Regions from separate parts of the Homo sapiens genome. Here region 1 is linked to region 2. The links are contacts of gene promoters, found by promoter capture Hi-C in blood cells and fetal thymus (Javierre and others, 2016). All regions are on one chromosome and are shown on one strand. Each heading gives the region's core, a stretch centred on a gene start or on the middle of the fragment in contact. The rest is flanking DNA. Distances are from core to core; before and after follow the strand shown. Region 1 overlaps KIFBP (kinesin family binding protein). Region 2 holds the start of SUPV3L1 (Suv3 like RNA helicase).

What was found. The method cuts DNA at HindIII sites, captures the fragments that hold promoters and counts their contacts. A CHiCAGO score of 5 or more calls a contact.
Region 1: a contact is called between a fragment that was not itself captured here and the fragment with the promoter of SUPV3L1 in region 2, in 1 of 17 cell types (naive CD8 T cells). The highest score is 5.4, in naive CD8 T cells.

The regions. Positions count from the first base shown.
Region 1 is chr10:69,004,128-69,010,582 of GRCh38, forward strand. It overlaps KIFBP (kinesin family binding protein), which reads left to right. Exons shown (of 7, transcript NM_015634.4): 3 at 919-998; 4 at 1,605-1,788; 5 at 4,714-4,798. Among named protein-coding and RNA genes, the nearest start is that of KIFBP, 19 kb to the left of the region's middle. The HindIII fragment of the contact is 4,484 bases long and covers 1,792-6,275 here.
Region 2 is chr10:69,175,453-69,181,802 of GRCh38, forward strand. It overlaps SUPV3L1 (Suv3 like RNA helicase), which reads left to right and starts at 4,782. Exons shown (of 15, transcript NM_003171.5): 1 at 4,782-5,110. The coding sequence starts at 4,840. RefSeq lists an enhancer at 4,497-4,866. The HindIII fragment of the contact is 6,235 bases long and covers 285-6,350 here.

The DNA.
Region 1 (6,455 bases), core at 2,784-5,283, 170 kb before region 2:
GTGAATCGCTTGAACCCGGGAGGCGGAGGTTGCAGTGAGCCGAGATCGCACCACTGCACTCCAGCCTGGCAAAAGAGCGAGACTCCATCTCCAAAAAAAAAAAAAAAAAAAAAAACTTAAAGAGGCTGGGCACCTTAGCTCATGCCTGTAGTTTCAGCACTTTGGGAGGCTGAGGCAGGAGGATCACTGGAGGCTAGGAGTTCAAGACCAGCCTGGGCAACAGAGCAAGACCCCCATCTCTAAATAAATAAATAAGAATTAAAAAAAGAAAAAATACTTCAAGAATTATATATGTCTAAAAGCAGATTGGTGGATTTTTTGCATATTTGCAGTTTAACTGCAACAACAGTAAAATTTTGTCAAATGTGAACTTTTGACATTTGGTTAAAACAAATAAAAGGGTATCTTTTATTTGTTTGACTCAGATTTTATGGTTAAGAAAATTACTTGTTGAGGCGGGTGCAGTGGCTCACGCCTATAATCCTAGCACTTTGGGAGGCCAAGGCAGGTGGATTGCTTGAGCCCAGGAGTTTTAAGACCAGTCTGGGCAACATAGCGAAACCCTGTCTCTACAAAAAATATAAAAATTAGCCAGGACTGGTGGTGCACACCTGTGGTTCCAGCTACTCAGGAGGCTGAGGTAGGAGGATTGCTTGAGGTGGGAGGATCGGGAGACGGAGGTTACAGTAAGCCGAGATTGTGCCACTCCACTCCAGCCTGGGTGACAGAGACCCTGTCTCAATAAATAAATAAAAATTTAAAAAACAGAAAATTACTTCTTGAGTAACATAAAAATGAACTAGGAAAAAATGAAATGTATTTGGCTTGTAGAAGTTGATTTCTCCAGGTCCTCCAGAAGAGGGCACTTGGTGTTTACAGTTTAAAACTTTAAAGAGCTTTTGTTTTTCTTAATTGTAGGTTGGGAGTCCTCCTCTTGATCCTACTGAGCGTTTTCTTCCTGAAGAAGAGAAACTTACTGAACAAGAGAGATCAAAAAGGTGAGTAGGTATAGAAATCAGCCCTTGCAAATATTTCCACATATCATAGATTAGTGATTGTTCAAAAAGTCACTTATAAAGGTTATAGAATGTGGATTCTGACAGGAGTAAAACCTCCATTTACCACTTACTTGTTATTTGACCTTGTTCAAACCTGAGACTCAGTTTCCTTATCTGTCAAATAGATACAATAAACAAATCCAACTCAAAGGGTTGGTGGGATAATCAAAATAAATATATATGAAATTTACTTATAAAACGTAAACCATGGTCCGGACACGGTGGCTTACACCTGTAATCCCAGCACTTTGGGAGGCTGAGGCGGGTGGATCACAAGGTCAGGAGTTCAAGACTGGCCTGACTATTATGGTGAAACCCCGTCTCTACCAAAAATACAAAAATTAGCCAGGCATGGTGGCAGGCGCCTGTAATCCCAGCTACTCGGGAGGCTGAGGCAGGAGAATTGCTTGAACCCAGGAGGCGGAGGCAGTGAGCCAAGATCGTGCCACTGTACTCCAGCCTGGGCAACAGAGCGAGACTCTGTCTCAGGAAAAAAAAAAAACAAGTAAACCATTACACAAATATTGGTTTATTTTTTCTTTACAGATTTGAAAAGGTTTATACTCATAACCTATATTACCTAGCTCAAGTCTACCAGCATCTGGAAATGTTTGAGAAGGCTGCTCACTATTGCCATAGTACACTAAAACGCCAGCTTGAGCACAATGCCTACCATCCTATAGAGTGGGCTATCAATGCTGCTACCTTGTCACAGTTTTACATCAATAAGGTAAGCTTCTTGAAGTAGTTATCTAACAGAGTACCAATAGTGAGTATAAAAATAGAACCAGTAGTACCTTGAAAATACTATCTTTTAAAAACAGGTAGCTTGTATTTTATGATGTACAACTGAAGCCGAAAATGCAGCCCAGTTTGCCCGTGTACTAAAATTTTGTAGCTTTTTGTTGTATGAATTATTTTGAGTTTTAAAATACCGAGTTTTATCATTGTTTTACATGTTACCTAAGACCAATTCTTTTTTTAACATAGGCACGCTATCTCAACTCATTTTAGTGAGATATTACCTTAAATTGCAGATTTTACCTTGTAGATATAGCTTTATCTTTACGTAATGGTAATCTCATAACTCTGAGAATTTGACTGAGGAAGTTGACTGTTAAATGTGGGCTTTGATAAAAGCATGTGATGCATTTCAGTTATTTTTCAGAATTAACTCTGTAATAATTTTTTAATGTTGGAAATATGTCTGCTGAGTTCCAAAGTTCTAGGTCTTTATACCATACTTCTTTTGGATTGTTACACAGGGACAATGTTTTTGAGCTTCTTAGTTGTTTATCAGAATTTCTCATAAAAATTTAAAAAAGCATTGCTCACATCATGTTGGTGTACTCTTAATTGACCCATTTATTCCTTTAATCCTTGAGAGTTTTTAATGCTAAAATAATTTTACACCACCTTTTCTAACCAGATTTTCCTATTAATCCTTAATAAGACATCTCAGCAATATAAATTACTTTTATTTATATTTCGAATTCGCAAGCCTCTCTGAAATTTTGGTAGTTCTCTGCTTATCAGAGTTCCTTCTTTCATCTCTCTGGTAACCCGCTGCCTTATCCTTGGGCCTTTATCCTTTTTGAGCATTTCGTTAGCGTTGGTTCTGTAAATGCGCCCGATGATTAAAGTATTGTCCCACAGAATTTCATTCAGAAAAGCTATTAGCAGGAGAGAAAGGGCTGTGGTGACTGCAGCATCGCTTCTAGGACTTTGGTCTAAGATCAAGTGTGTAAGTAACGCTACTGCATATATCAGAGCATTCAGTTAACTAATTCTCATGAATCCATTTCATTGTCCTCATCCAAAGTGTTATCCAGTGCCTCCGCTTGTGACATCTTTTTTACAGCTGTTGGAGGCCCCTTATTCATTCTGTTTAGCAACTTTAAAATTACATATTCACTGTGACTTTAATTTATACTTAAAACTCCATGGAAATTGGCAGTACTAAGATATCTAGATATTAAAGTGTGATTAAAATTTAAAGTTGTTAAGCATTACTTATGTGGAGCATGCAGTAATTTTCATGAGACCTCCCACACCCTGCACTTTTATTTTTTTACCAAAATCTTTTTTAAGTTTTTGTTAAAACCAACTAAGTCGTATTGCAAAAAGAGGGATTTGAACCATGTTTTTAAAAATGCAATTGTCATTTATATCATTGTCATCTTCATCTGATTCCAGTGATGAGGTTTTGCTACTTGGTGAATCCCTACCTGGCAGCTGCTAAAGTCCCACATTTACCAGCCACCTAGAGGGCATAAGACACTCACTGTTCTAGCAGTGGTTGCTCACAGGGAGCCAATCTGGACAAAGCTGAAATGACGATAAATGTTAAGGGATTGGATTATAGAGAGATAATTAAAGTTTCATTATATAAACTCTAACTTTCTTTTGGCTTTTAAGATTTAACACATTTTTATCTATAGATGTTGCTGGGCTAATACTACACGTGTCCAGCTATTCTCAAGATGGCTTCTGAATTTGCCATAATGGAAAGATACATTTAATGCTGCAATTTTAAAGTTATAGCCAACCATTTAAAGCCTTTCAGGTATTACTAATATTAAGTAGACATTCTATTTAATGAGGGTGGCTTCCAACTAAAAGTTGGACTTTAACTTTGAACTTCTGCTGGGTGGTCCTTTGACTTACATGACAAATACAAAATGTTTCTATTAACAAGGAGATCTTCTCTAATTGTTTGAGAAGTTTGCCATGCCCGGAATTGAATTATGAAGTCTTCAAGAGTGTTGGTAAAGCAGTTCCATAAGGTTCATCTGTAGAAGTCTGTTGACTTTAAAACTTGGTGGGAAGCCTTATTGTATGTAAAGTTTAAAGATTTTAGAACACAGGAATATCTTCTTACCTGAGTTTATCCTATTTGCCTTTGTATAGTAGGATGTAAAGGGGCTCTCTAAACCTAATAAAAATTAAATCCTCAGGCTGGGCAAGGTGGCTTACATCTATAACCCCAGCACCCTGGGAGGCCAAGGTGGGAGCATTGCTTCAGGCCAGGAGTTGGAGACCTGTTTAGGCAACATAGAGAAACCCCAGAATTAGTCAGGCTTGGAGGCTAAAGGTGGGAGGATCCCTTAAGACCAGGAGGTTGAGGCTGCAGTGAACTATGATTGTGCCACTGCACTCCAGCCTTGGGCCAGAGTGAGACCCCTGTCTCGTAAAAAAAAAAAAAAATATATATATATATATATATATATATATTCAGTCTTCTGACACAATGTAAATAGTCTAAGAATTTATTGTGCATGGGATTTTGGCTACTTAGACTGAACCTAAAGGAGTTTTTGAGACAGTTTAAGTCTAGGATGACAGCCATTCCTGTATATCTATTGATTGTATAAGGAGAGCTAACTTTCAGTTGGCAGTTGTCTTTCAATCCGAGTGGATTATTATTAAGAGTTTGGGGGCATTAATATTTTAACCTTTGAGGTTACATTTTAACCAGATAATATGATAATATATCTTTTGTACCTTCTGAATGATCTGCAACTCTACAGGGCCTCCTTTGTAGTATTTTTATCTGATTTTATACCTTTTCCCATATTAAAAGAAATTATGCAAGTATCAGTTGCAAATAAAGCTGTGTGATAGTTGCATTCACTGTTGTTTATTTCCCCAATAGCTATGCTTTATGGAGGCCAGGCACTGTTTATCAGCTGCTAATGTCATTTTTGGTCAAACTGGAAAGATCTCAGCCACAGAAGACAGTAAGTTTACCTTTGCATGTTTTACATAGCTTTTAAAAAAAGTTTTATTTTGAAATTATTTTAAACTTTTGAAAAGTTGCAAGAACAGAAGAGCTATCATATGCCCTTCTAAATGCACCAATTTTTAGTATTTTCCTCGCTTGGAATCAAATTTTATTTTTCTCTCTGAACCATTGGAGAGAAGGTTACATACATTAGGCTCTTTTACCCTTTCATACTTTAGTATATATTTCCTAAGAAGAATATTTTCTTACATAATCATAGATCATTTATCAAATTCAAGAAATGTAACATTGGCCAGGCATGGTGGCCCACGCCTGTAATGCTAGATTTTGGGAGGCCAAGATGGGAGGGGCCAGGAGTTCAAGACAAGCCTGATCAACATAGTGAGACCCCATCTCTATGTTTTTAAAGAAATTAAAAAAAAAAAAGTAACATTGATACAATTCTTTTATCTACACTGCATATTTCTATTTCATCAGTTGTTGCCATAATATTCCTTCTAGCATTTGTTTGCCAGTACTGGATTATACAGTTCAAGATTGCATAATGCATTCAGTTGTCACATCTCTTCAGGCATTTTTCGTCTGGAATTGTTCCTCAGCCTTTCTTTCCCTTTCATCACTTAATATTAAGAATATAGGCCAGTTATTTCATAGAATTACTGCCAGCTGGGGTTTGTGTGATGTTTCCTTATGCCATGATTCAGATGATATATTTTTGGTTGGAATACTACATGCATAAGCGATGTTGCCAAATACCCATCTTTTTAAGTATAGTGTTTCCTTTAGTCTTAGAAAATCACAGTTAACATGTGTCTTTGAGTCATTTAACAGGTTTTTTAATAAGTTCATCATTTTCTTTAAAAATAGTTTATTTTTAAAAATAGTTTGATTCTATTGCTCACTGTTGAACAGTTTCCAACCTTCTTACGATGTTTTAGATTTTGAAACATCATGTCTTCCTTACAAATGGACATTCTAATTGTGGATCTGAAAAATGCAGAGACTCTTAAGAGCTAAAGGAATGTACATTATCAAAGTAAATAGTTGCTTTCTCCCCTAATATATTAACTACATTAATTATAGATTAGTTGAAGTCTAAGAGGCACTTGTCTCAAAAAATGAATAAAAACTAAATTGCTGAGATATTATTTAATAATTCACTTTATTTAAAGTAATATCGTGAGATATTATTTTGTTTTTACTCTTCATAATAGCTGAAAAAATGACAGTGACCAGTGTTTTCAAAATGTTCTTATTGAGCATTCTCATATATTGTTGGTTGGCATATTTGTTGAAAATAATTTGGCTGTATGTTGTGAATTATTTAAAATTGTGTAAACTCTTTTACTCAGTAAATTCCACTTCTAGGAATCTGCCCTAAGGAAGAAATCCAAAATCCAGACAGATTTTTGCACAATTATACTCATGTTTCAAGTTTAAAAAAAATGTGTGTATGTGTATAAACTTTACAAAGCTTTGTGTTGACAGCTGACTTTGTAGATTACAGCAAGAAAGCTGCTCTGCTATGTATGACACTCTGACCCAGAAGCAGGTCATCTGAATAGTTTAGCACCAGGTTCTCCACAACCATCTGTTGTGTGACATAGACGTTTTTGTGATAGTAAAGAATTGGAAACAACAAATTCCAGGTT
Region 2 (6,350 bases), core at 3,532-6,031:
ACCAATCAGCACTCTGTAGCTAGGATTGTAAAACGCACCAATTGGCACTCTAGCTAGCTAGAGGTTTGTAAAATGCACCAATCAGCTCTCTGTGGCTAGCTAGAGATTTGTAAAATGGACCAATCAGTGCTCTGTAAAATGGACCAATCAGCACTCTGTAAAATGGGCCAATCAGCAGGACATGGGTGGGGGACAAATAAGGGAATAACAGCTGGCTGCCACCCCCCAACCCCAGCCCCCAGCCAGCAGCAGCAACCCGCTTGGGTCCCCTTCCATGCTGTGGAAGCTTTGTTCTTTCGCTCTTCACGATAATAAATCTTGCTGCTGCTCACTCTTTGGGTCCATGCCACCTTTGAGAGCTGTAACACTCACTGCAAAGGTCCACAGCTTCATTCTTGAAATCAGCAAGACCACGAACCCACTGGAAGGAACAAACTCTGGACACATCGTGGTCCACCTGTCTTGGCCTCCCAAAGTGCTGGGATTACAGGCGTGAGCCACCGTGCCCGGCCAAGAGTAAATCTTAAAAGTTCACTTAGGATAAGCAACAGTTTAGCGTCTAGATCATGATAACCTTAATGTCAGAAAAATACTAGAAACTTCAACTTACAAAATTTGGTAGACAAGGTATGAGAGAGTAATCTACAGGATGTGCTTTTGTGAAACCTACACCAGATTTTGTTAATAGCAAAAGCAGGCCGGGCGCGGTGGCTCACGCCTGTAATCCCAGCACTTTGGGAGGCCGAGGCGGGTGGATCATGAGGTCAGGAGATCGAGACCATCCTGGCTAACACGGTGAAACCCCGTCTCTACTAAAAATACAAAAAAAATTAGCCGGACGTGGTGGCGGGCGCCTGTAGTCCCAGCTACTCGGGAGGCTGAGGCAGGAGAATGGCATGAACCCAGGGGGCAGAGCTTGCAGTGAGCCGAGATTGCGCCACTGCACTCCCGCCTGGTGACAGAGCAAGACTCCGTCTCAAAAAAAAAAACAAAAAACAAAAAACAAAAAACAGCAAAAGCAAAGGCGAAGAAGAAATTAACTTGTATTATTTCTGCCACCTAGGTTATCTTCTCCCACTTCCTTTCCCCTTCTATTTATTTCCGTATTCATGCATGGATTTAGCATATTTACAGACTATCAGTTAGTGCTTGCTATGGTTTGAATGTGTCCCCTAAATTTTTTGTGTTGGAACTTAATCATCAAATTCATATATTGATTGGAGGTGAGGCCTTTGGGAAGTAATTAGGATTAGATAAAAGTTCTCAGTGTGGGTCCCCCATGATGTGACTGGTGGCTTCGTAAGAAAAGAGAAACCTGAGTTGACACACAGGTCTTGCTCTCTGGCCATGTGATGCCTTCTACCAGGTTATGTCAAGAGGGCCATCACCAGATGCCAGCCTCTTGATCTTGGACTTCCTAGCCTCCAGAACTAAAAGAAATAAATTCATTTTCTTTACAAATTACTCAGTCTGTGGTGTTCTGTTATAGCAATGCAAAATGGAGTAAGTGTTATCTTGGCCCTATCCTGAAGGAACTTTAATCCAGAGCAGTGGTTCTCAAAAGTGTGGTCTCAGACCAGCAGAGTTGCATCATCTGAAATGTTTTAGAAATGTAAACTCTCAGATCCCACTCCAGATCTACTGAATCAGAAACTTCAGGGATGGGGCCCAACAATCTTGTTGCACTCTAACGTTTAAGAACCACTGACCCAGAGACACAATTACGATAGTTTTCATTCTATGATAGAGCCTCTACTGGGACCTGTGATATGTAAGAGAAGCACCCAGTGTGTTCAGAGGTGCAGAGGTAAGAAACGATGATATAACTGGTGTATAGTTCCAGCATGAATAGAATGGTAGATGTGGGGAGTAGAAATAAAGCTGGAAGAGGCATATAGGGCCAACCAATTTAGGACAGAACCTGGATGCCATACGATGGAATATGGGCTTTATCTGAACATTTATTCAGAATCACCAAAGGACTCTAAGCAGGAGTAACTTACCAGATTTGTGTTTTCAAAAGATCATTATGGTGCTACGGCAAAGTATAGGAGGATACCAGTTACATAGTTACTGCATTAATCCATTCAACAAGCAAAATAAAACATTTATAGAGGCTCTAATATGTGTTAGGTGCTGATTACACTTACTGCTATAAATATGACATAACCAGTATAGATATGACATCTTTTTTTGTAAAAGCAAAAATTTTATATTGAATTTTCCCATTTCAATGTTTATAGTAGAACTTAATGAATGGCTGAAAGGGAAAGCCTGTATGTGCTATCATAAAATTCAGATTGCATTTTCTACCTGCAAGGAGGTGCAAACAAAATTACAGTTAAAATAGTTTTGAGGATTTTTTTTTTCTGTAAAACTATACTAGGGTTGGGCTAGATCTGTAAGACTAGTAACTGCCAGGTGCTGTGGCATGCACCTGTAGTTCCAGTTACTCAGGAGGCTGACACAGGATTGCTTGAGCCCAGGAGTTCACGATCACCCTTCCAAAGAAAAAAAAAGACTCGTACAAATGTTGATTCTGGCCTAATATGCTGCTCCTGTCCAAAAAGCCCACCTATTTGCTTTGAAATCAGAAAGACTGGCTGGGCACGGTGGCTCACACCTGTAATCCCAGCACTTTGGGAGGCCGAGGCAGCTGGATCACTTGAGGCCAGGAGTTCTGAGACCAGCCTGGCCAACATGGTGAAACTAAAGAGAATACAAAAATTAGCCAGGTATTGTGGTGCAAGCCTGTAGTCCCAGCTACTCGGGAGGCTGAGGCATGAGAATTGCTTGAGCCTGGGAGGTGGACGTTGCAGTGAGTTATGATTGCACCACTGCACTTCAGCCTGGGCAACAGAGTGAGACTGTCTCAAAAAAAAGAAAAAAAAAAGATTTAGATTTGTATCTGACTCTACCACTTACTGGGGCAAGTTAGTTAACCTGGTGACAATAATACCTCTAAATTGTTGTCAAGCATATTAAAAGATTAAAAGGAACAACATAGTGCTTGCCTCAGTTACGTATTAAACGTTTGGTTTATCCTTCATTCTCCTAGTTTCCAAATCTGACGAGACATCATTGTTTATTAACATTTTCTAGCATATTTAGTCACTCACTACATTATCTAAGGAGTCTTGTAAAACCTCTCATTCCACATACATGGTCTCCATCATAACTCAGACACAGGAATCTACCACCTTCAGCTAGAACTGTTGATAAAGTTGTAATTTTCCTCCCTGCATATTTGTGTTTATCCTAGTCTATCCTAGGTACTTCCTAATGAATGATTTCTCTTCTCAAAAATATAATCACTATTTGTAAGCCATAGAATTAGGTCTGCGTTAACTCTGTTACTTAAATTTTTTTCAGTATGTCTTTTCCTTAGTTAAGCCTCTGCTTACATCGTTTCCACTGACTAGAATTTACTTACCGCTTCTCTATGTTTTACTTTTAAGTCTGGCAGAAATCTCCTTACCACTCTCAAATTGCTCCTTTCTTTGAACTGCCATTAGTCTATTAGAGTAATAAGTGCATTATTTAACGTGTACTGTTCTTACCACCAAAACCAGATCAGAACCTTTGAAAGCAAAGGACTGTCTCCTTGTATCCCTGATGTTTAAAAATTATTTTGTGAATCAAAGGCACGTGGCAAATTGTTACTGGAATCCTATTAGACATACAGTATTGTATATTACATAACACGTTCCTTCAAGTTGTAAGATCTTAATGATGTAAGTATAAAGAGATGTGGATGGAGATGCTAAACTTGTGAATTTTTTTTTTTTTTAGACGGAGTCTCACTCTGTTGCCCAGGCTGGAGAGCAGTGGCCCGATCTCGGCTCACTGCAACCTCTGGCACCCAGGTTCAAACGATTCTCCTGCCTCCGCCTCCCTAGTAATTGGGATTACAGGTGTGCACCACCACGCCCGGCTGATTCTTGTATTTTTAGTAGAGAGGGGATTTCACCATGTTTGCCAGGCTGGTCTCGAACTCCTGACCTCAGATGATCCACCGGCCTCGCCCTCCCTAAGTGCTGCGATTACAGGCGTGAACCACCACGCCCGGGTTAAACTTGTGAATTTAACATGTTGCAGCCTCACATGAGAACACGGTATTCAACAAATGCAATGGAACGAAACTATGGCTGGGGTACAGAGCACGTATTTTTGCCATGTGGTCACAACTATGTGGTCATAGCTGCTAGGATGATGTACGCAAACTGCTCACATTAAAGCAAAAGTACTTACGTAATACAAGGGGTTTAATAGTGCAACAATATTTCTTAGCAACATTTCTGAGGGGCATATCAAGTTATTATCGCTAACGTTATCATATCAGGAAATGACGGTTAACAATGCAAGAAACTTTTGGGAAATGCTATTTAGTGTTTGAGTCCGCAAGACATACTCGTACCCTGAGCATTCGCAGTTGCTGCTCCACCACCCATTCTCTCACTGCTCACCCACGTGCTTCTGGACACTTGCTTACCAAAGTACTAGTTTGCATCACGTGACACGACTAGCAGGCCCCCTCCGCTCATGTATGACATCCCAAAGATGCCTGATTATTTTCCCTTCTTTAGGGAAAGGTGGTCCCAATCACCAACAAAACAGAGAAAGAGAACGAGAATTATCTCTAGTGGTTTTGCCTGCTAATCTTCTTTTTCCCTGAAAGAACACCCTCACGGCACGGCGTTTTCCTTAACGGTCAGGCGTTTTCCCGGGCAGCTTACCTGCTCGGCCTGGGTCTTTCTGGACAGCAGGCGCTGGAGGTGCGCGTCACTGTCCGCCGCCGTGTCCGCGGCTGCGCCAGACAGTGTAGAACCTGCGGCCTCGATGTCCTTCTCCCGTGCCCTATTGTGGGCTCGGCTCCCGGCGGGGCGCCAGGCTGGCCACCGGGCAGCCATCTGCTCTGCCCTTCGTCCCCACTTTGGGCCCTTTCCCGGGGTTCTGGGGCAAGTTTCTGTCCTTGCCACCGCCTCCTCCTCTGCCTCCGGTGGCTCCAAAATACCAAACACGTCCTTGTTCGTGCCCCTGACTGTGAAACCTCAGGGCCCCAGCGCCGACGGCGACGTCGGGGCCGAGCTAACCCGGCCTCTGGACAAGAGTGAGTGCGGGAACTACTGAGGGCGGCAGAGGGTGGTGTCTGCTGGGCCGAGGCTGGTTGGGAGGAAGCTACATCCCCTTCCCCTGGGGATCCGAGGTCCCATCGAGTGTTGTCATCGTGCCTCTCAGTGTCTGCCTCCTTCGCTGGTGTGTGAGCCCCTCAAACGGCTTAGGACTGTATCTGATTAATTCTTAACGCCTCGTCCCAGAAGCGGCCTTTTCCCTTTTACTGCCCTGCTCTCTGAATGGTTTAGACACTCATGTGTTGGGAAGATTTGACTTTTTTGAGTTGTTAGGTGGACGCCCGCTCTTTCTTGCATTCTTTGTTTCTCTCCCACCCCCGAATGGGATGTGGCAGTGAAAAGCCAGCGGAGACTCCTTTTAGGATTCTTTATCATTGAGGAGGCGCCGACTCATACCACGCTGTTAGGCTGTGTGGTGGTTGCCAAGAGGAACCAGACTCAGATCCAGATCCCCTCTTAAGAAACGTAACGGTATCGTGGGGGAGGACACGTGTATGGAAAGTGAACTGTAATACAAGGTAGAACATGACAAGGTCTAGAACAAGGTAGGGTGTCCCCGGCTCCAGAGAGAAAAGAAGAGGTAGCATCAGTTAGTGGCAGCGGGCTTTGCTCAGCAAAACTTAAGTTTGGATGGATTCGTTGACAGAGAGGCATGTGAATGTTTTCAAGGTGAGTTTCGGGATGATTAGGGAGGTAAGGGAGTTTCCTCTGACCATATGAAACTGGGAGATTGAGGAAATGCTATCCAGAATTGTCTCCAGGAATAGGAGGAGAAATGTCTCACTTCAACAAGCGACATTGGTGCCTCCTATTGTAAATCTAAAATATAGACTACAATATGTTTTTCAGAGCAGAAGTACAGTACTTTCACTAAACATGTGATGGAACTCACAGTATATGTTATTCTTTGACATATTCTTCCAGTGTTAAGCAAGGCCTTTCACTTTACTTGGTGCTGGGAGACTGTCTTTATTTTCTGCTGTTATAACATAATACCTGAGACTGAGTAATTTATAAACAATAGAGGTGTATTTGACTCATGGTTCTGAGCCGGGATCTGATGAGGGCCTTTGGCTGCATCATCACATGGTGGAAGGTGGAAAGGCAAATGAGCCTGTGAGACAGAGAAAGGGGGCTGAACTTATCCTTTTTTCCTGTGATAACTGACTCCTGTGATAATGGCATTAATCCACTCACAAAGGCAAACTCCTCATGTCC